4 separate regions of the Homo sapiens genome follow, and regions 2, 3 and 4 are each linked to region 1. The links are contacts of gene promoters, found by promoter capture Hi-C in blood cells and fetal thymus (Javierre and others, 2016). All regions are on one chromosome and are shown on one strand. Each heading gives the region's core, a stretch centred on a gene start or on the middle of the fragment in contact. The rest is flanking DNA. Distances are from core to core; before and after follow the strand shown. Region 1 holds the start of KMT2B (lysine methyltransferase 2B). Region 2 holds the start of LRFN3 (leucine rich repeat and fibronectin type III domain containing 3). Region 3 overlaps GAPDHS (glyceraldehyde-3-phosphate dehydrogenase, spermatogenic). Region 4 overlaps ATP4A (ATPase H+/K+ transporting subunit alpha).

Region 1 (5,446 bases), core at 832-3,331:
CCCACTGTTCCTTCCAGGTTCCCTCCCCCAGGGCCCCGCACAGCTCAGCCCTGGGGAGATGGAAGAGTCTGATCAGGGGCACACAGGTGAGTCGGGCGGGGGCACTCGTGCCTCAGCCCCACTGTAGCCCTTGATTTCCTGCCTGAATGGTACAGTGAGTTGGCGCTGGGATTCCTGGCCCTGCCCTCCTTTGCCTTCTCTGTCCCCACAGGCGCACTTGCAACCTGTGCGGGTCATGAGGACAAGGCAGGCTGCCCACCTCGCCCGCACCCTCCCCCGGCCCCTCCTGCTCGGTCTCGGCCCTATGCGTGCTCTGTCTGTGGAAAGAGGTTTTCACTCAAGCATCAGATGGAGACGCACTACCGAGTCCACACAGGTATGGGCGCCCTGCCCTGTGTGAACTGTCGGCTTTCTTCCCAACTCCGCTCCTGAGTCTCCACCTGTGTGCCCGGTTCCCGCGCAATCCCCTAGCCCCGTGGCCCGATCCACCCCTAACTTGGCCAGCTTTCGCCGCCTTCTTCCTTCCTTCACCGGCCTCCCCTTCCGACCGCTCTAGGAGAGAAGCCCTTCTCCTGTAGCCTTTGTCCTCAGCGCTCCCGGGACTTCTCGGCCATGACCAAGCACCTGCGGACACACGGGGCCGCTCCGTACCGCTGCTCCCTGTGCGGGGCCGGCTGTCCCAGCCTGGCCTCCATGCAGGCGCACATGCGCGGTCACTCGCCCAGCCAACTCCCGCCCGGATGGACCATCCGCTCCACCTTCCTCTACTCCTCCTCGAGGCCGTCTCGGCCCTCGACCTCTCCCTGTTGTCCTTCTTCCTCCACCACCTGACGGGGTGTCGGTAGCGTCTTAGCCAAGAGTCCAATTAAAGAACGAAAAGCGGGCCGGCTCGGCTTCTGACCTGGCACCGCTGCTACGGCGGCCTAGCAAATTCCGCCCCAGAAGCGCCCCAGGAAGGGCGCCGAGTGCCCTCTCCTGGACGATCGCGGGTCGCAGAAGCCCAGGCCAGCGAGCCCTACAGAGTGAGGACACTGAAGTGTGCAGGAGCGAAGGTTAACAGTAGGGGAGATTGTCGATCTCATCACCATAATAAAGAGTTTCCTGTGCCCTCCCTTCAGGACTAGAAAGCCGAGTTTAGTCTGTGCACACCCCCGCCCACGCCCCTTGTCCTGTAGCGGCCCCTGGTGGCCCTGCGTCCGCTGTCCAGCGGGATGGACACTTCTTCCACCCCCGAGGCGCCCCGTCCTCCCCAGGAGGCAGCCGGCCCCGAGGACTCGGTGTCCGGGCACACCTTGCGGCATGCCGGTCCTGGACTGGTGGGGGCTGTGCGACCGCAAGTCACTCGCCCCTTCCACTGCAATCCACGGCGCGCGGAGTCTGATCTGGGAACGCTCGGCCCGGGAGAGAGAGGAACGCGTGCTCCGACCCTGCTTTCGGCCACCCGCCTCCTCTCCGGGAGCACACGGACCCCGAGACCGCGGCCTCTCCGGCGTCTTCCCTCCACACCGTGCCAAGCCGCCGCCAGGTCGCGCCTGGAACGGAGACTGACTATGCTTTCCACCGCTCCTTCTCCAGCCCACGCCTCCTGCAGCCGCGAACTGCATTTCCCAGGGCCTCGGGGGTCCCGGGGCCCGAGCCCGCGGCACCCTGGGAGTGGTAGTCCACGCGGGCCGCCGGCCTAGCCAAGAACAATGGGAGGAGCCTGGGGCTAGGACCACACCTCCCGGAGACCCGGCAACCCGCTTTCCGGGTCCTGGCCGGGAACCCCGCCGTCCCGGCCCTCGCGCCCTGGCTGCCGGCGGAAGAAGCGAGGCGTCCGGACTACATTTCCCGGAGGCCCCCGCGGTTCGCCCCTCTGCGGCCGCGACGCGGGGGTCTGTGCTCCCCAGGTGCGGTCCGAGGGCGCCGGCCGGCCGCGGACTCCCTCTCCCGTGGTGCCCTGCGCGTGGCCGGCCCGGCCCCCGGTCTCCCGCGGCGGCGCTGGTTGTTGTCGTGCGCCGCGGCCGCCCCGCCCCGCCCCCGCTCTCTCCCCTCCCCCCGGCCCTGCGCACGGGCCGCCCCTCCCCCCGCCTCCCCGGCCCCTCTCACGGTGCCAAGATGGCGGCGGCGGCGGGCGGCGGCAGTTGCCCCGGGCCTGGCTCCGCGCGGGGCCGCTTCCCGGGCCGGCCGCGGGGCGCCGGCGGGGGCGGGGGCCGCGGCGGACGGGGCAACGGGGCCGAAAGAGTGCGGGTAGCTCTGCGGCGCGGCGGTGGCGCGACGGGGCCGGGCGGAGCCGAGCCCGGGGAGGACACGGCCCTGCTCCGTTTGCTGGGGCTCCGCCGGGGCCTGCGCCGGCTCCGCCGCCTGTGGGCCGGCCCGCGGGTCCAGCGGGGCCGGGGACGGGGTCGGGGCCGGGGCTGGGGCCCGAGTCGAGGCTGCGTGCCGGAGGAGGAGAGCAGTGACGGGGAATCCGACGAGGAGGTGAGGCGGTTGGAGGCGTCCCCGGCGCCGGGTGGGGCGGAGGCCGGGGCTTCCAGGGGTCTGGGTTGTCCCGGGGGCGGCGTGGGCAGGCCGGGTCCTCAGGGTTCCTTCGGAGAGACGGGGCACGGAGGGAGGGCGGCTGCATGCAGCTTCCGGGGGAAAGGGCCTCTGGAAGTGGGTAGAGAAGCCCCGGCTGCAGCCAGGCACTCGCGCCCGATGTCGGTCCCGCTGAAGTGTCTTGGGCCGATCCTTTTCGGCAGCTGGCAAAGCTAGGGCGGTGGAGGTTTGGGCGAGGAGGCAGTGGGGACTGCATGTCCAGCCAGTCGTGGTTGACAGCGGCAGCGTGGCCTTGGCAGACAGGTTGGAGCTGTCTGGGCTCTTACCTGTGGGCCGCCCCGCCGGGCCTCGCAACCTCCTGGTTTCTCCAGGGCCCCAGTTTCTCTTGGCATCTCAGGTAGAGTGGTGGAGGGCTTCCTCTTGGGGCTCGGGTTGAACAGGAGTGGGATGAAGGCCGGGACTGGGCACTCTAGCAGGTCAGAGCTCAGCTCAGGATTTCTCCCCCAGCCTTTCAGAACAGGCAGGAAGGTGTGGGTTGCGTTGCCCTGGACGGTTAATAACAACCTGAGAGCTCGCAGTGGAGCCTGTACGAAAGCCATCTGATGCCCTCCCCGCCCCTTCACTTGCGGGCCCCTGTTCCCAACTTAATGCAGAAATAAATTGTGGCCCGAAAGGGTGTCAGTGGAGGTCCCACTTTGGTCTGAATTGGACTCTGAAGGAATCTGAGTATGGGGCCTGCTGCCTTTCCTGAGGAGACCCTGTCGTCTTCTCTCTTGGGCCAGTGAACCATGGCTTTGGCTGTGCTGGTGTGGTCCGGCACTGGGGATCGGAGTTCGAAATACCTGGCGCCTCCATCCCTAGGGAGAGACCCTCTCTTCCACTACCCGCGACCTTTGAGTCTTTTTCGTTCTTTTTAAATAGGCAGGGGTATGCTAAGTGGGAACTGGGGATATTCCTCGATACCTCAGATGGAACGAGGGCTTTGGCACTGACTGCTGTTTCTCCCCTCCACCCCGGTCCCCTAAATCAGGAGTTTCAGGGTTTTCATTCAGATGAAGATGTGGCCCCCAGTTCCCTGCGCTCTGCGCTCCGATCCCAGCGAGGTGAGTGACGGGGGAACTCCACCTCTTTAGCGTCACAGGAATTTATCCTCGCCCTTCGTGTCAGCTCTTCCCTGTTCAACTAGCCTCTGTCAGTTGCCGAATGTGTTCTGTGTTCAGAGTCCAAGCTAGTCTGGGCAGCGGGGGAAACACACAAGCAAGACTTAGTCCCTGCCCTCCTGGAGCGCCTTCCTCTGTGTGTAGGGCTGGCTTGATCCATCTCCCCACAACTATTCTCCTTTTAGGTCGAGCGCCCCGAGGTCGGGGTCGCAAGCATAAGACGACCCCCCTTCCTCCTCCTCGCCTAGCAGATGTGGCTCCTACCCCCCCAAAGACCCCTGCCCGGAAACGGGGTGAGGAAGGCACAGAACGGATGGTGCAGGCACTGACTGAACTTCTCCGGCGGGCCCAGGCACCCCAAGCACCCCGGAGCCGGGCATGTGAGCCCTCCACCCCCCGGCGGTCTCGGGGACGGCCCCCAGGACGGCCAGCAGGCCCCTGCAGGAGGAAGCAGCAAGCAGTAGTGGTGGCAGAAGCAGCTGTGACAATCCCCAAACCTGAGCCCCCACCTCCTGTGGTTCCAGTGAAACATCAGACTGGCAGCTGGAAATGCAAGGAGGGGCCCGGTCCAGGACCTGGGACCCCCAGGCGTGGAGGACAGTCAAGCCGTGGAGGCCGTGGAGGCAGGGGCCGCGGCCGAGGTGGTGGGCTCCCCTTTGTGATCAAGTTTGTTTCAAGGGCCAAAAAAGTAAAGATGGGACAATTGTCCTTGGGACTCGAATCAGGTCAAGGTCAAGGTCAACATGAGGAAAGTTGGCAGGATGTCCCCCAAAGAAGAGTTGGATCTGGACAGGGAGGGAGCCCTTGCTGGAAAAAGCAGGAACAGAAGCTGGATGACGAGGAAGAAGAGAAGAAAGAAGAAGAAGAAAAAGACAAGGAGGGAGAAGAGAAGGAAGAAAGAGCTGTAGCTGAGGAGATGATGCCAGCTGCGGAAAAGGAAGAGGCAAAGCTGCCACCACCGCCTCTGACTCCTCCAGCCCCTTCACCTCCTCCACCCCTCCCACCCCCTTCGACATCTCCTCCACCCCCACTCTGCCCTCCACCACCACCCCCAGTGTCCCCACCACCTCTACCATCCCCTCCACCGCCTCCTGCCCAAGAGGAGCAGGAGGAATCCCCTCCTCCTGTGGTCCCAGCTACGTGCTCCAGGAAGAGGGGCCGGCCTCCCCTGACTCCCAGCCAGCGGGCGGAGCGGGAAGCTGCTCGGGCAGGGCCAGAGGGCACCTCTCCTCCCACTCCAACCCCCAGCACCGCCACGGGAGGCCCTCCGGAAGACAGTCCCACCGTGGCCCCCAAAAGCACCACCTTCCTGAAGAATATCCGGCAGTTTATTATGCCTGTGGTGAGTGCCCGCTCCTCCCGTGTCATCAAGACACCCCGGCGATTTATGGATGAAGACCCCCCCAAACCCCCAAAGGTGGAGGTCTCACCTGTCCTGCGACCTCCCATTACCACCTCCCCACCTGTTCCCCAGGAGCCAGCACCAGTCCCCTCTCCACCACGTGCCCCAACTCCTCCATCTACCCCAGTTCCACTCCCTGAGAAGAGACGGTCCATCCTAAGGGAACCCACATTTCGCTGGACCTCACTGACCCGGGAGCTGCCCCCTCCTCCCCCAGCCCCTCCACCTCCCCCGGCCCCCTCCCCACCCCCTGCTCCTGCCACCTCCTCCCGGAGGCCCCTACTCCTTCGGGCCCCTCAGTTTACCCCAAGCGAAGCCCACCTGAAGATCTACGAATCGGTGCTTACTCCTCCTCCTCTTGGGGCTC
Region 2 (5,446 bases), core at 2,947-5,446, 220 kb after region 1:
GAAGCTGAAGCCCAGAAACGCGAATCACTTGCTCAAAGTTATTCAACATGTCAGTGGCAGAGCTGGGATTTGAACTAGGCTGTCGGGCTACCAAGTCTGGGCTCTTCTTCATAGGAATATCTCATCACCCTATTCAGTTATCCTAAAATTGTAATTAGCACATGAATCAAGTCAAGATGGTCATTAACATGTGAATCTCTTTGAGTCGCTGATTACCAGCGCTTGTTCCTGCCCAAATTTGTGACTTAGACCTGCTTCAGGACAAAGTTGACAATCAACATAGATTTATAGTTAGCACATGAATCAGCACAGGTTTCTGTTCACAGGGATCAGATTTCTGATTAGCACTTGAATCAGCAGTGGTTTGTGTCAACAGCTGGAGTCTTTAGGTTCCTGATTTGCACAGGGATCTCCATCCAGGGATTATTTTCTTGCCTAAATAGGCCTGTTCCTTTATGTCCAGGTGACCTTCTCTTCAAATGTTGTCCCAGCTGGGTGCAGTGGCTCACGCCTGTAATCCCAACACTTTGGGAGGCTGAGGCGGGAAGATTGCTTGGGTCTGGGAGTTTGAGACCAACCTGGGCAACATAGCGAGACCCCGTGTCTCCATGAAAAATAAAACAATTAGCCTGGCATGGTGGCATGCTCCTGTAGTCCCAGCTACTTGAGAGGCTGAGGTGGGAGGATCCCTTCAGCCCAGGAGTTTGAGGCTGCAGGGAGCTATGATCATGCCACTGCATGGCAGCCTCAGCGACAAAGCAAGACCATTTCTCTTAAAGAAAAAAAAAAAAGGGCGGGCACAGTGGTTCATGCCTGTAATCCCAGCACTGTAATCCCAGGTTGAGGTGGGCGGATCAACTGAGGTCAGGAGTTCGAGACCAGTCTGGCCAACATGGTGAAAACCCATCTGTACTAAAAATTTTTTTAAAAATGGCCAGGCACAGTGGCTCACGCCTGTAATCCCAGCACTTTGGGAGGCTGGGGTGGGTGGATCATCTGAGGTCAGGAGTTTGAGACCAGCCTGGCCTACATGGTGAAACCCCATCTCTACTAAAAATACAAAAATTAGCAGGGCATGGTGGCACGTGCCTGTAATCCCAGCTACTCGGGAGGCTGAGGCAGAAGAATCGCTTGAATCCGGGTGGCGGAGGTTGTAGTGAGCCAAGATCATGCCACTGCACTCCAGCCTGGGTGACAGAGCGAGACTCCGTCTCAAAATAAAAATCAGCCAAGCGTGGTGGTGCATGCCTGTAATCCCAGCTACTCAGGAGGCTGAGGCAGGAGAATAGCTTGAACCCAAGAGGTGGAGGTTGCAGTGAGCCGAGATCATGCCACTGCACTCCAGCCTGGGCGACAGAGCAGGACTCTGTCTTTAAAAAAAAAAGAGATGGGGGCTGGGCGCAGTGGCTCACACCTGTAATCCCAGCACTTTGGGAGGCCGAGGTGGGGGTATCACCTGAGGTCAGGAGTTCAAGACCAGCCTTGCCAACATGGTGAAACCCCATCTCTACTAAAAATACAAAAATTAGCCGGGCATGGTGGCACATGCCTGTAATCCCAGCTACTCGGGAGGCTGAGGCAGAAGAATCGCTTGAATCCGGGCGGCGGAGGTTGTAGTGAGCAAAGATCACGCCACTGCACTCCAGCCTGGGTGACAGAGTGAGACTCCGTCTCAAAATAAAAATCAGCCAAGCGTGGTGGTGCATGCCTGTAATCCCAGCTACTCGGGAGGCTGAGGCAGGAGAATAGCTTGAACCCAGGAGGTGGAGATTGCAGTGAGCCGAGATCATGCCACTGCACTCCAGCCTGGGCGACAGAGCAGGACTCTGTCTTAAAAAAAAAGAGATGGGGGCTGGGCGCAGTGGCTCACACCTGTAATCCCAGCACTTTGGGAGGCCGAGGTGGGGGGTATCACCTGAGGTCAGGAGTTCAAGACCAGCCTTGCCAACATGGCGAAACCCCATCTCTACTAAAAATACAAAAATTAGCTAGGCATGGTGGTAGGTGCCTGTTATCCCAGCTACTTGGGAGGCTGAGGCAGGAGAATCACTTGAACCAAGGAGGCAGAGGTTGCAGTGAGCCAAGATTATGCCACTGCACTACAACCTGGGCAACAAAGTAAGACTCTGTCTAAAAAAATAAATAAATAAATAGGCCGGACACTGTGGCTCACGCCTGTAATCCCAGCACTTTAGGAGGCCGAGGCGGGCAGATCACGAGGTCAGGAGATCAAGACCATCCTGGCTAACATGGTGAAACCCTGTCTCTAATAAAAATACCAAAAAAATTAGCTGGGCATGGTGGCAGACGCCTCTAGTCCCAGCTACTCGGGAGGCTGAGGCAGGAGAATGGCGTGAACCCGGGAGGTGGAGCTTGCGGTGAGCCAAGATCACACCACTGCACTCCAGCCTGGGCAACAGAGCTAGACTCTGTCTCAAAAATAAATAAATAAATAAAATAATAATAAAATGGGGTTATTTGTTTTTTGCTTGTTGCATTGTTTAAGTCCCTTATAGACTGAATTCCTCTTTATGTCTCTAAATACATTTGTCTCTTTGGTACACATCTGCGGTGCTACATGCCCTCAACCCACCAGGTTTTAGCATAGCTGTTGTGGTAGACAGTTCCGTGTGCAGTGCAGATAGCCCTGGTTCAGCCCAGCTGTTCTCAAAATGTGGTCCCTGACCAGGTGTAGTGGCTCACACCTGTAATCACAACACTTTGGGAGGCCTGGGAGGGAGGATTGCCTGAGGCCAAGAGTTCAAGACCAGCCTGGGCAGCATATTGAGACCCTGTCTCTACAAGAAATTTTAAAAATTAGCTGGATATGGCGATGCATGCCTGTAGTCTCAGTTACTCTGGAGCCTGAGGTGGGAGGATTGCTTGAGCCCAGGAATTTGAGGTTGCAGTCAATTATGATTGCACCAATGTACTGGGTGACAAAGCAAGACCCTGTCTCAAAAAAAAAAGTATGGTCTTTGAAAAGTCACATTAGCATCACCTGGGTACTCGTTAAAAATGCAAATGTTTGGGTCCCACCTCAGACCCACTGAACCAGAAACTCTGAGGTTGGGACCTGGAGATCTATGGTGCCCCCGGGTGATCCTGGTGGGCTGCACTGCAAGGACACCTGGCCTGGCTCCTGCAAGGCAAGGCATCCCTCTCTGCTTTTCTTTCTTTCTTTCTTTCTTTTAAAGACAGAGTCTCACTCTGTCACCCAGGCTGGAGTGCAATGGCTGGATCTCAGATCACTACAATCTCCACCTCCCGGGTTCAAGCAATTCTCTTGCCTCAGCCTCCCGAGTAGCTGGGATTACGGGCGTCCGCCACCACACCCGGCTAATTTTTGTATTTTTAGTAGAGACGGGGTTTCTCCATGTTGGCCAGGCTGGTCTCCAACGCCTGATCTCAAAAGATCCGCCCGCCTTGGCCTCCCAACGAGCCGGGATTACAGGCGTGAGCCACCGCCCCCGGCTGTCAGTGTGTCTTGAGGTCTTTCCCTAATCCCAGATGGCACAAGTTTTCCCTCTTGCAGGCAGAGAAAGGAGCCTTGGGAAGGAGCCCCTCTGGCCTGAAAGATCAAGCCTATTGCTGGGCATGGCCAGGTAAGGAAACTCCAACCGTGGAAAGGACATTCCAGGGAGGTGGTGCTGAGATAAGGGGGGCAGAAAGAGACAGGTTTGGGGGGCCAGTGGCTCTGGAATGAAGCGCTACACTCAAGGCTAGGAATAGTTACTGAATGCACATACACACATACCATTCTCACAGCCCAGGTGCTGCGTCTTAGAGCGTGTGAGTGTGTATGTGTGTGTCTGTGTGTGCGCGCGCACGCACGTCTCTATCTCTGTTTCTGTCTTTCTCTGACTTGTCCTTATCTCTTGTCTCTCCATCACTCTCTGTGTCTCGCTGTCTCTGTGCATTTCCATGTCTCGAATATGTGTGTGTTTCAATCTGTCTCTCTGCCTCTTTCCATTTTCTCCTCTCTATCCATCAATCTAAGCCTGCCCATCTTTTTGTCTGCCTTTCTGTATCTCCGTTCTTCTCTGTCTCTCTGTCTCAGTCTCTCTGTATCCAGGGATTCTCTTTCCCAGCAGCGCCAGTGCGACTCCATGGGAGGTGGGGCCGGGGCGCGTCTTTGAGAGAAGGGGCGGGTGCCTACGCCTTTAAGCGCGGGTGCGCGCGGAGCCTGCGCCTTTAAGCGCCGGTGCGCGCGCTGCCCTGGGTTGCCGGCGAGGAGGCCGCGGGAGCGCCTGGACCCGGCCCGCCCAGCCCGGCCCCCGCCCGGCCCCCGCCTCGGCCCCGGCGGGGGAGGGGTCTCTGAGCGCGGCCCCTCCCCCCTGCGCCCCCGCCTGCGCTGCGGTGCCCCCATCCCGCGTGTCCCAGTCTGTCTGACCGTCCCTCCGCTCCCAGGCCTCGCCCCACCCGGCCCTGGGGCTGCCCGGTCGCCCCCCTCCCCACCGCAGCCGGTCCCCTCCCTCCCAGTCAGCCTCCGCCGCAGCCCAGGAAGCCAGCCGGGACGCCGCCGCCCCGGACCCCGCGCCCTAACCTCCACCTCGGGGGCCTGCACCCCCAGATTGAATCGGGAATTCCGGAAACCCGAGCCTGGAACCCTGATCTGGGACCAGCACCCCGAGATCCGGCCGTGGAACCCCAAGATCTGGAGCCTGAACCCCAGTATATGGGGCTGGAATCTCAACATCGGTCACTGGGACCTCAATATTTGGAGCCGGAACCCCACAATTTGGAACACAGACCCCAATATTTGGAGCAGAACCCCAAGATTTGACATCTAAAACCTCAAGCCTGGAGCTGAACTCTGAATTCTGGGCCTGGGACCTTGAAATCTGGGACTGGATTTCCAGTACTGTACCCTGGAACCCACTCTTGGGGACCTGAACCCTGGGATTCAGGCCTCAAATTCCAAGATCTGGACTGTGGGATTCCAAGGGGCCTGAACCCGAGTTTGGGCCTGAAGTCCTTGCTGCAGACCTGAGTGCTTAAATCTGGGGCTTGAGACCTCCCAATCTTGACTCAGCACCCCAATATCTGAATGCAGAACCCCGGGATCGGATCTCAGACTCTAAACCCCACCGTTTGGCTGCTTAGCATCCCAAGACTGGACCTGGGAGACCCTGACCCTGAACAACCCAAACTGGACCCGTAAAACTGGACCCTAGAGGCCCAATATTTAGGGGTCTGGAACCCCGAGTATTAAGGTCTGGAGACTCCGTTGCCACAGATTTGAGCCGAGTCAGGACACAGTCCCTCTACAGAAGCCTTGGGGACAGGAAAAGCATGACCAGATGCTCCCTCCAGAGCCCTGACCTCTGACTCCCCTGGAGCTAGGACTCTGCTCCCTGGGGCTGCTTCTAGCTCAGGTAAGGCTGCTGAAACCTCAAGGTGGGGACGGGCTGGGAGGAGCATTGTGGCTGCGGGTTACGGTACC
Region 3 (5,446 bases), core at 1,056-3,555, 180 kb before region 1:
AGCAAAGACAGTTTGTTCTCTTTCACTTTGGTGGTCATGCAACCCATTCCCTCCCTTCCCCCGCATAGTGACCAGAGCACCGCCCCCACCTGAGCCTAAGGCTGAAGTAGAGCCCCAGCCACAACCAGAGCCCACACCAGTCAGGGAGGAAATAAAGCCACCACCGCCACCACTGCCTCCTCACCCCGCTACTCCTCCTCCTAAGATGGTGTCTGTGGCCCGGGAGCTGACTGTGGGCATCAATGGGTGAGTCTACTCCAGCCCCTGATCAGTCTGAAGCCTTAGAGCCCAGCCCCTCCTCTGGCTGCTAACTGGGGGCACCTCCACATTTCCCCCCATCAATGCTTTCGTTCCGACGACCCTGGAGAAATAGCCCGGAGCAAGGCAGACAGGGCCCCATGCTCAGCAGCATGCTGGTGGGGAAGACAGTAATCAAATAAAGAAATTAGATTGTTCAGTAGAGTGTGCTGGGAACAGTGTAGAATCCAGTGGAAAAGTCAGGCTGGAGAGGGCAGCCTTTGCCAGTGATCAGGGAAGGCCTTGGGGAGAAGGTGTCATTGGAGCGGGACCAGAGTGATGAGACACAGCCAGCTCCCAGGGCACCTTGCTGGGGAAGGAGTCTTCCAGGCAGCGGGACAAGCAATGATTCTGGGGCAGAGGCGAGCTCAGTATGTTCAGGGACAGCCAGGAAGTCAGAGTGGCTGGTGTCCACCAAGCAAAGGGAAAAGGAGGGAGGCCAGTGAGAAGCCCGGAGGGGGCTGCTACACCACAGTAAGGAGTGTGGATCTTGTTTTACTGATGGACAGTCGTGGATGTTTTCATGCCAAGAGACGTAATCTGTCTTGAAGTTTTAAGATCCATCCAGGCTCTCACACCTGTAAACCCAGCACTTTGGGAGGCCAAGGTAGGAGAATCCTTTGAGACCAGGAGTTTGAGACCAGCGTGGGCAACATAGCGAGACTCTGTCTCTACAGAAAAAAATTGTTTTAATTGTTTAATGAAAAAATAAAAGATCCATCCAGCTACAAGGTTAAGAATAGGGGTTAGGAGCCAGGCGCAGTGGCTCACGCCTGTAATCCCAGCACTTTGGGAGGCCAAGGCGGGTCTATCAACTTGAGGTCAGGAGTTCGAGACCAGCCTGGCCAACATGGCAAAACCCCGTCTCTATTAAAAATACAAAAATTAGCCAGGTGTGGTGGTACGCGCCTGTAGTCCCAGCTACTTGGGAGGCTGAGGCAGGAGAATCACTTGAACCCAGGAGGCAGAGGTTGCAATGAGCCCAGATAGCGCCACTGCACTCCAGCCTGGGCGAAAGAGCTGGATTCCATCTCAAAATATATATATATATATATGTATATATGGGTTAGGGAACGGATTGGGAGAGGGAGCTGAAAAAGCAGTTAAAGGGGCTGGTGAGGTCATCTTGGCAAGAGATGCCCATGGCCAGCACAGAGGTTGTTGCCTTCTTCCCCTGGATTAAGGATTCCCAACCAGGCTCCTTGAGGGAGCCTCCTCTCCATTACCCCCTTCTCTCCCATCCCTTCCTGTCTGTCCCTGGCCAGATTTGGACGCATCGGTCGCCTGGTCCTGCGCGCCTGCATGGAGAAGGGTGTTAAGGTGGTGGCTGTGAATGATCCATTCATTGACCCGGAATACATGGTCAGTAGCTGGCAGAGGGCAGGAACAGCAGGGTGGGACTGGGGTGGGAAAGGGACTCAGGGAAGCTGTATGGAAGGCTCTCAGCTGTAATGTGAGACCTTCACCAAAGAGGGGACTCTCTAGGGATCCTCACCCTGCCACCCCAAGACTAGGAGCCATTCCATCCCCCACAGGTGTACATGTTTAAGTATGACTCCACCCACGGCCGATACAAGGGAAGTGTGGAATTCAGGAATGGACAACTGGTCGTGGACAACCATGAGATCTCTGTCTACCAGTGGTAAGGAAAGCATCTGTCTGATGCACGGCTGTGACATATTGAGGCAGGGCATGTGGAGGTGGCTAAAATGGGATTCCAGCCTCTCACATGGGGTGCTGAAACCACCCCCAAAATTGCGTGTGCATGCCTCTAGGTACTAATTTGAAGAGGGAAGTCTCAGGTCCTTCACCCCTAAAATGATTAAGAAGCACTAATCTAAAAAGATGCCTCACTGTACTGAAGAATGCTTTTTCTTTATATTTTTTTTAGGGACGGGGTATCACTCTTTTGCCCAGTCTGGAGTGCAGTGGTGTAATCATAGCTCACCGCATCCTTGACCTCCCGGGCTCAAGTGGTCCTCCCACCTCGGCCTCCCAAGTAGTGGGCACCAGCCACCACACCTGGCAAATTTTTTGTAGAGATGAGGTCTTGCCATCTGGCCCAGGCTGGTCTCAAACTCCTGGCCCCAAGCAATCCTCCCACCTTGGCCTCCCAGAGTGCTGGGATTACAGGCAGGAGCCACTGCATTTTGCTTTAACGCACATTTGCATGTTTTCTCGTGGGCATATCAACATGTCCAGAACTCAACTCTTGATTCCCCTTCAACCCACACCTATTCAGCTCCCATTGACCACTGCTGGTCAACTATGCCTGAATTCCAAAGGGAGGAAGGTATAATGAGGCTTGTGCGAACATCCGAACATCCGTTCCCATCATGGCCTGAACCAGTGTTTCAGTTTTACTTTAGAATGCCCTGGGCCGAGAGAAGGGCTACATTCAGTTAGTTGGGGGAGTTTAGAATTTTATTTTTGGCTGACATTCACCTTTCTAATGTAAACTATTAGCGACTCCTGGCTCTGTGGCTGCCTGGGGCTTTTACACATACACACCCACAGGCCCACACACATGCAAATACACACAGGCACACTAGTGAACCCTGTCTGGGCCCAGGCAGGGTCTGCAGCCTCCCCAGCGCCCCTCCCCACAGATCTAATCTCAGCCCTTCTCCTTGTACTTACTGGGGGTAGGGTGAGTGATAAAGGGGCAGGGATGGGTGCAGGAAGTTTGTGGGCAGGGGGCAGAGACTGGAGAGTCAGTGAAAATTGAAGAAAGCTGCTTAACCCAAGTTTGAAATCATGACACTAGAAACAACTCCAGCACCATAGTTATCACGCAGACTTCAACGTGGCCACCACCATTACCGCCACTTGGAGTCATCCCTCTTCCCCACCTAGCTGCCCCCTCCGTCCACGGTCCCGACTCAGGTCTTGCCTTCTCTGGTCACTTGTGCAATGCAGTTCCCCGCCCCTCCAGCCCCCTCTCCATCCCCGCACTGTTGGGCTGCACAAGCCAGGCTGTGTGCCTGCACTCTGCCCTGCACCTCCGCTAGCTAGCTGGGTGACCTTGGGCAAGGAACCAAACTTGCCTGAGCCTCAGTTCCCCGCTGTATCTGATGGGGATGATGAGCAAACCCACCACAGCGGTAGCTGGGAGCACGAATGGAGTGAACATGTGTTTGTGGACACTTAAACGGGCACTTCCCACAAGGCCATGGCCTTGCACGGAGGGCTCTGTCAACTGGTACCACCACTGTTGCTCTGGCATTAGCAGGTACAGGCCCTGATAGCCATTCAGAACTTCCTTTGAATGAATGAATGGAATCCTCAAAACAGCCTGGTGGGCAGGAGGCTGGGGCCCATGACAGCCTTGGGGAGGGCCTGGGGTCTTCTGGGGGCACAGTCTTTGCCTCAGGCCAACTCAGCAATTGTTGCAGAGGAATCGCAAGTGTCCCTAATTTGGAAGGCAGGAAATGGGGGGTATCTGAGAAGAGCTCGTTGGGCCAGATGATGGAAAGTGGACTGACAGAGCAGGAGACAGGAAGAGGATAACCATGCATGTGTGATGGCTTTGCAGGGCAGCCCATTCATTCATTCATTCAGGCAGTGGAAACAGGAGTGCAGACCCGAGGTGGGACCAGCCACCTGCACTCCAGCAGGCTCTCCCTCTCACTCCCCTCCCCTCTGCCCTGACAGCAGTAAAAAAATGCAAAAAATGACAGCGGTAGCACTTCCTCATCGGGTTGTGAAGGTTACATGAGTTTAATGCAGGTAAGGCACTTAGAATATGGGCACAGGACAGGTGTTCAGTAAACACGTATAAAATGGCTAACTAAAAAAAAAACACGAGGCCAGGTGCAGAGGCTCATGCCTGTCATCCCAGCACTTTGGGAGGCTGAAGTGGGGATCACCTGAGGTCAGGAGTTTGAGACCAGCCTGGCCAACAGAGCAAACCCCGTCACCACTAAAAATACAAAAAACAACAACAATAAAAAACTAGCCAGGTGTGGTAGCGCATGCCTGTAACCCCAACTACTCGGGAGGCGGAGGCAGGAGAATCGCTTGAACCCGGAAGGTGGAGGTTGCAGTGAGCCAAAATCGTGCCACTGCACTCCAGCCTGAGTGACAGAGTGAGACTCTGTCTCAAAAACAAAACAAAACAAAACAAAGAAAACCCATGAGGCCAGGCACGGTGGCTCACACCTGTAATCCCAGCACTGTGGGAGGTCAAGGATCACTTGAGCCCAGGGGTTCTAAAGCACCCTGGGCAACAAAAGTGAGACCCCATCTCTACAAAAAAATTTAAAAATTAGCTTGGCATGGTGGTGTGCGCCTGTAGTCCCAGCTACTCGGGAGGCCAAGGCAGGAGGATGGCCGGAGCCAGGAAGATCAAGGCTGCAGTGAGCTCTGATTGCACCACTGCACTCCAGCCTGGGCGACAGAGGAAGACCCTGTCTCAAAACAAACAAACCCCACAAACATTGATTGAACCCCCCATTGAGGGGAGCAGGCTCAATGGCAAAGGAAACAGACCGACACTGGCCAAGAATCACAGAAGCAAAGCACCCGGTTACTCATGATAAACCTGGGAAGGAAGAAAGTGGAACAGTTTATTCACTTAATGCTTGTTTGCTAAAGCCAAGTAGAAAACGGCAATACTAGATGTTTAGTGTGCTTCAAATACAAATGTTTGTCAAAATACCAAGTAAAAACATAAATTTATAAAACAGGAAACCAGAAACCTCCCTTACCTTTCCAATGTAAACCATGAGCCACTGCTGCCCCAAGGCTGCCTCAGGCTTCAGGAGTCCTCCAGGAGCTTTTTCTTTAATGCAGTGTCTGTTTTCAGGGACCCTCCTGGCCTTTGGCAGCCAGCTTCCTATTGCAGGAGCTGAGGGTCTAGGAGGGTTCATGGCGAGGTTGTCAGAGCTGGGAAGCAGAAAGCAGCCGGGCAGGCCTCACAGTCACAGAGTCCACGTCCCGGGCAGCATATGGAGAAAGGGTCTGGGCTGGCTGACAGCAGTCAGCATTGGCGCCTCTGAGGAGGTTGAGGGCTGAGTTGGGGAGGTCACCACCTGTACCCAGGCATAACAGGGGTGGTGCAATCAGCAAAGGGAAAGTGGTCTGAAGTGGGGCAGTGGTGAAAAGCTAGGCCAGCGGGGTGGAGCCCATCTGGAACAAGTAGGTGTGT
Region 4 (5,446 bases), core at 2,239-4,738, 160 kb before region 1:
TGTGCTCCAAACCTTCATTAAAATAGACCACATGTGCAAATACCCTGTGGGAGTGATGCTGTAGGGAAAATAGCAGAATAGGGGCCTGGTTCCACATCTGAGATGATGCATTAGTGTCAGGGCAGAGACACCCATCTGCAGTTGCGATCATCAGAAGCAGGAGTTTGGAGCTGGAGATGGTGGGAAAGGCCCTTGCCCCCCCGAACTGGCAGGGAGTCTGGGGGTCCGGGATGCTCTGGCTGAACTCAGTCACACGTGGAGGAACAAGTGGGCCGCACACAAGGCAAGTTGCCCTGGGAAGGAGGGAGCCCAGGGATGGGATGGGGCGGGGCAGGGCTCACCCACTCCTGGCCGTAGCTGTCCTGCAGATCTTGTAGGTGGTGGTCCTCCCACTGCGCCCGCAGCCCCACGCACAGCAGTGGGAACCAGCCCTCCTGGGCCATTGCCGTGAAGTAGTCAGTGAAGCCAGCAAAGGACTGAATGGCACCTGGAGAGAGACAAGGGGACACAGGGAGACAGAGATGGACACAGAGACAGGGACACAGGAAGAGAGGGACATGGAGAGACAGGGACACAGATACACAAAGGTCAAGGACACACAGACAGGGACACGGGAAGAGAGACAGGGACACAGATACACAAGGTCAAGGACACACAGAGCCAGGGACACAGAAACAGTGACAGAGACACAGAGGCAGAGAGAGAAGCAGGGACAGAGAGACAGAGGCAGGGACAGAGAGAAAAAGACACATCCAGGACCCAAAAAGACAGAAATAGGCAACAACTCAGAGACAGGGTCATGGAGAGCAAGGTCAGAGAGAGAGCAGGGACACAGCAGAACCAGAGAGACTGTCACAAACAGAGAGGGACACGGAGGACAACGGAGACCCAGGACCAAATGCAGACACTGAGGTCCAGAACCAGCCGGAGCCCAAGGCAGGGCCTGGGGCAGGCGAGCAGCCCAGCGCAGAGCCCCCCACCTCCAGGCTCCCCGGCCCACGGGCACCCACCAATCTGGAAGTAGGAGTAGGCAGCCAGGGGCTCGTTGACCAATCTGTCACGCTTTGGGTTGCGTGGACGCAGGTGCATGATGTCACTCTCGGCCTTTTCATATGCCAGGGACACAGATGGGAACTGGCCAGGAGTGGAAGGAACTGGGACTGAGGGTTTGGCTGGGCCCTTGTCCCCTCCACTTCGGGTCCCCCTTCCCCCACTTGTGAGCAGGAACAGGACTGAGGTTAGCAGGCAGGACCTGCAGGGACGGCACAGCCACACCAGCCTGGACAGCCTGGGCCCCACTGGCCCCTGGGTGTTGGCATCCTGGTGCCCATCTTCGTAAGAACATCTGCTTTTATCTTCTCCCTCTGTCTCCCTCCCTCTCTTTCTCTGTTCCTCACTCTGTTTCTCTGTCCCTGTCTCCAGTGTAATTCTCTGTGACTGTATCTGCTCTTGTGTATTTCTGTGTCACTCCCTATCTCTGTGTATCTTCAGTCTCTCAGTGTCGCCGTGCCCCTTCATCTGCTTGTGCCTAGAGTGGCAGCAGAGCATACTGACCACGACCACAGGCTGTGGGACCTGTGACTGCTCAAGCTCAAGTCACAGCCGGGCCACTTATTTGCCCAGTGACCTGGGACAATCCACTCTACCTGTCTATGCCTTGATGAGCTCATCAGTAAAGTACGGGTGATAGTAACAAAACTCATCTCATAGTGTGGTTATGAGTACAAAATTAAGGAAATGATGGTGTGTCTGGCCCAGAGAAAGCACTGTGTAAATGTTACCGAATAAATACCTGTCAACACAGCTGCGCCTCTGGCTGCATTCGTGACTGTATCTGTGGTTCTTTTCTGTCTGTCTGCCATGGGGTCTATCTGAGGGGGTTTATTTGTCCGTGTCTGTTTAGGGGCACGTGTCTGTGATTCAAGTTTGGCCAGATACCTGTTCTGTTTCCATCTCTGTCTGAGTATCTGTATCTGAGTCATGTGTGTGCATGGGTCGGCCCGGGCCTACCTGAGTGTCCGCCTGTGTGTGCATGGCTGTATGTCCATTTAGGTCTGTTCACCTGCCTGCCACCCATGTGTCCTGCACTGGCTGTCATTGCACACACAGGTCTTGTCTGTCACTCTGTGCCCAAGAGTGTCTGTGGTGGTCTCTGTCCCTCCTGTCCATCTGCAAGCAAGTGTCTCTGGGCACCCTGTGGATGGGTACCCTGGGCTGTGGACTTACAATGTCAGTGCAGAGTTCGATGAAGAGGATGGTGATGCACCCGAGGGGCAGGGGCACGCTGACGGTGATGTAGATGAGGTAGGGTGTCAGCTCTGGGATGTTCTTGGTCAATGTGTAGGCAATAGACTTCTTCAGGTTGTCGAAGATCAGTCGACCTGTGGGGTAGGGTGGGCACCTCAGCCTCCTCACAGCCCTCTCCCTCCTGTGCCCACACTGCCTGCCCTCCCCCTGGCGTGGCTCGGACCCTGCTCCACGCCTGTCACAATGGAGGCAAAGTTGTCATCCAGCAGGATCATGTCAGCTGCATTTTTGGCAGCATCTGAGCCAGCGATGCCCATGGCTACTCCGATGTCTGCCTTCTTCAGAGCTGGGGAGTCATTCACACCATCCCCCGTGACGGCCACAATCGCACCCTGCAGGCAGTGGGTGCAGGTGGTGGGTGGGTGGTCAGTGAGAGGCCGGTCCAAGACCAGCCCCGCCTGTCTGCCCGCCTGCCCACCCTCATCAGCAGGGCTCACCAGCCGCTGGCAGCTCTCCACGATCACCAGCTTCTGCTGGGGGCTGGTGCGCGCAAACACCATCTCGGGGTGGGTGCGCAGGGCCTCGACCAGTTCCGATGGGTCCATGTCCTTCAGCTGCATGCCATTGATCACACAGGCACGGGCATCCCTGGGGAGGAGATGGGAGGACCTCGCTGGGACCTCGGTCTGTGCCAGATGTGGGGAGAACCCCGGGGAGGTCTGGGGGGGCTTACTTGCGATTAACCTGGTCTACGGGCACACGGAGGCGGGCAGCGATGTCCTCCACTGTCTCGCTGCCTTCCGAGATGATGCCCACACTGGCTGCAATGGCCTTGGCGGTGATGGGGTGGTCACCCGTTACCATGATCACCTGTAGGGGGAACCAGTGGATCACTGACCCCTTCAGATCAGCCCAATCTCCCTGTCCTCCCTGGGAGACATCTGCTGATACACGTGTTCATTTACTTGACCAAGCGTGACCACCTCCTACGTGCCTGGGATATAGCAGAGACAAAAGAGACAAAAATCCCTGTCCTTGAGGAGCTCTAGTGAGGGTGACAGAAAATAAAGAAACGAATTATATAGTGTGTTAGAAAGTGGAAAAAAACATATTAAGCTTGGTGAAGGAAACGGTGACTCGATTTTAAGTGTACCCAGGGAAGGGCTTATTGAGAAGGTGATATCTGAGCAGAGACCTGTAAGAGGTGAGAGAGTCAGCCACGTGGAAAGCTGGGAGAAGAGTGCTCCTGGCAGGGAGAACAGCAGGTGCAAAGGCCCTGAGGTGAGGACAGGCCCGAACTGTCGGAGGAACAGCAGGGAGGACACCATAACTGCAGAGGAGTGAACAAGGAAAGAGGGCTAACGAACAAGCTTAGAAAGGTAACAAGGCCCGATGTAACAGGGCCGTAGAGACACGGGAAGGGCTTGGGCATTGCCTGCCTGGCCTTGGCTTTCCCACCCTTGTTTTGTGTTTGGGGAACCACTCCTCTCCCCTACACCATCAGTTGCAGTGAGGTCCCTGGCTAAGATTGGGTAAGTAAGCCCAGACCTGGCCAATCAAGGTCTTCCATCCCCCAGCCCCAGTGACTGGCTCAGGGATAAATGAGTGACCCAATCCAGTGCTACTGCAAAAGAGGCACTCTCTTTTTGTGGGGTGGCTAAGCAGGTGGGAGTTAAGTTTGAGCTGCTGGAGCAGGGGTGTGTGTGTCCCCAAGTGAAGGGAGTGCCTGCAAATAAAGCCAGCAAAGAGAACAGCAGAGCTGAGACATGGAGAAAGGAAAATTCCTAATGACACTGAGCTCCTGGATCTGGCTAGACCTGAAGCTTAATTCCCCAGAATTTTTCAGTATCATAAACCAATGCATTTTGGTTCAAGCCAGTTTCAGGTGGGTTTGTCATGGGGTTCTTCAACCCAAATCCTGCTGCCATCCTCTGTCCTCACTCCACTTGTTCCTCCCCACAGTGGCATACCCGGATGCCTGCGGTGCGACACTTGAGCACAGCATCAGGGACGGTGGCCCGGGGTGGGTCAATCATGGATACAAGTCCCGCAAAGCAGAGGCCGCTAGATGGAAAGTTCATGGCCTCTACGTCGAAGGCATAGCCAGGCGGGTAGTCCTTCTCATTCAGGTAGAGCTGGCAGAAGCCTGACCGGAAACGGGGAAGTCAGGGAAGAGCCCTGGGCACACCCTTTCTTAGCAGGGCCAGGAAATGGGTAAAATAACCAGGCCCCTTGCACCAAACACCTATGGATGCCTGACCTTGTGCTGACCCCTTCACTCACATTATCTGAATCTACCCTCACAACCACCCTGTGAGGCCCATTCTCATCTTACAGATGAGGAAACTGAGGCTCAGAGAGGGGACATTTCTTGCCAGAGGTCACACAGCAAGTAAAAGGCCCAGAATTGGACCACAGATCTGCTTTCTAGGGTAGAGGCAGCGAAGTTTAAGGCGTCAGGACAAAAATTGGGAGAGGTTAGAGGTCAGGATACGGATAAAAGTCCAGGTGAGGACTGGGGTCAAGGTAGAAAGTGAGGACAGACAGGGGTCAGGACTGGTACAGGGAAAGTCAAGGGTGAGGCTGTGGACTGCGACAAATCAGCCAGCAGCCAGGGATGAGGACGGTCAGGGCTGGGCCGGGAGTGGTGGGCAGGGTCTGTGCTAGCTCCTCCTCGCACCTGGAGTCTCCTCCCCTGCCCAGGGGTCTCACCGAGCACGCGTTCGCCCAGGCCTCCCAGGCTGAGGTAGGCGGTCTGGAAGGCCTCGCGCCACTGCTCGTCCAGCGGCAGCTCCTGGCCCTTGATAAGGATGGAGCTGCAGCGCTCCAGCACGCGCTCGGGGGCGCCCTTCATCACCAGCAAGTGTCGCGGGTCCCGCGGGTCCTCCAGCGTATGGATGGACAGCTGTGGGCGGGGGGGAGAGGCGAGGCTGTGGACGGGGGAACGGGGCGGGGCTGTGGACGAGGGAACGGGGCGGGGCTGAGGAGAGGGGCGGGGCCGAGAGCTCGGTGCGGGCTCTGAGAGCTGCGGGGAAGGGTGAAGGTGGAAGATGGAGGCCTTGTGTGGAGGGGTCCTTGGTAGAAGGTAAGCGTTAAGGCGGGGCTAGGTGCAGATTTGGAGTCCTGGACGCAGGGAATGAACAGAATTAGGGTGCGGAGTTGGGCTGGGGGCGGATTTGGAGAGCGAGGTGCTCCCCAT

Evidence for each region. The method cuts DNA at HindIII sites, captures the fragments that hold promoters and counts their contacts. A CHiCAGO score of 5 or more calls a contact.
Region 2: a contact is called between the fragment with the promoter of LRFN3 here and the fragment with the promoter of KMT2B in region 1, in 2 of 17 cell types (neutrophils and activated CD4 T cells). The highest score is 5.2, in neutrophils.
Region 3: a contact is called between a fragment that was not itself captured here and the fragment with the promoter of KMT2B in region 1, in 2 of 17 cell types (neutrophils and monocytes). The highest score is 7.5, in neutrophils.
Region 4: a fragment that was not itself captured here is called in contact with the fragment with the promoter of KMT2B in region 1 in 10 of 17 cell types (neutrophils, megakaryocytes, monocytes and 7 more); the score reaches 12.6 in neutrophils.

What each region holds. Positions count from the first base shown.
Region 1 is chr19:35,715,922-35,721,367 of GRCh38, forward strand. It overlaps KMT2B (lysine methyltransferase 2B), which reads left to right and starts at 2,082. Exons shown (of 37, transcript NM_014727.3): 1 at 2,082-2,460; 2 at 3,548-3,620; 3 at 3,863-5,446. The coding sequence starts at 2,098. It overlaps ZBTB32 (zinc finger and BTB domain containing 32), which reads left to right. Exons shown (of 7, transcript NM_014383.3): 5 at 18-86; 6 at 212-376; 7 at 557-1,117. The coding sequence ends at 831. RefSeq lists enhancers at 635-1,194, 747-1,026, 2,314-2,871 and silencers at 1,597-2,076, 2,157-2,206, 2,227-2,296, 2,337-2,416, 2,467-2,516. The HindIII fragment of the contact is 14,363 bases long and covers 1-5,446 here.
Region 2 is chr19:35,932,178-35,937,623 of GRCh38, forward strand. LRFN3 (leucine rich repeat and fibronectin type III domain containing 3) reads left to right here and starts at 4,197. Exons shown (of 3, transcript NM_024509.2): 1 at 4,197-5,378. The HindIII fragment of the contact is 21,793 bases long and covers 1-5,446 here.
Region 3 is chr19:35,536,745-35,542,190 of GRCh38, forward strand. GAPDHS (glyceraldehyde-3-phosphate dehydrogenase, spermatogenic) reads left to right here. Exons shown (of 11, transcript NM_014364.5): 2 at 69-246; 3 at 1,563-1,659; 4 at 1,833-1,939. It overlaps TMEM147-AS1 (TMEM147 antisense RNA 1), which reads right to left. Exons shown (of 4, transcript NR_038396.1): 3 at 5,007-5,330; 4 at 3,994-4,840. Among named protein-coding and RNA genes, the nearest start is that of GAPDHS, 6.0 kb to the left of the region's middle. RefSeq lists an enhancer at 3,389-3,888. The HindIII fragment of the contact is 7,412 bases long and covers 1-5,446 here.
Region 4 is chr19:35,552,696-35,558,141 of GRCh38, forward strand. ATP4A (ATPase H+/K+ transporting subunit alpha) reads right to left here. Exons shown (of 22, transcript NM_000704.3): 11 at 4,960-5,152; 12 at 4,218-4,393; 13 at 2,981-3,117; 14 at 2,745-2,895; 15 at 2,471-2,639; 16 at 2,227-2,381; 17 at 1,011-1,134; 18 at 342-487. Among named protein-coding and RNA genes, the nearest start is that of ATP4A, 8.2 kb to the right of the region's middle. RefSeq lists enhancers at 5,241-5,330, 5,400-5,446. The HindIII fragment of the contact is 254 bases long and covers 3,362-3,615 here.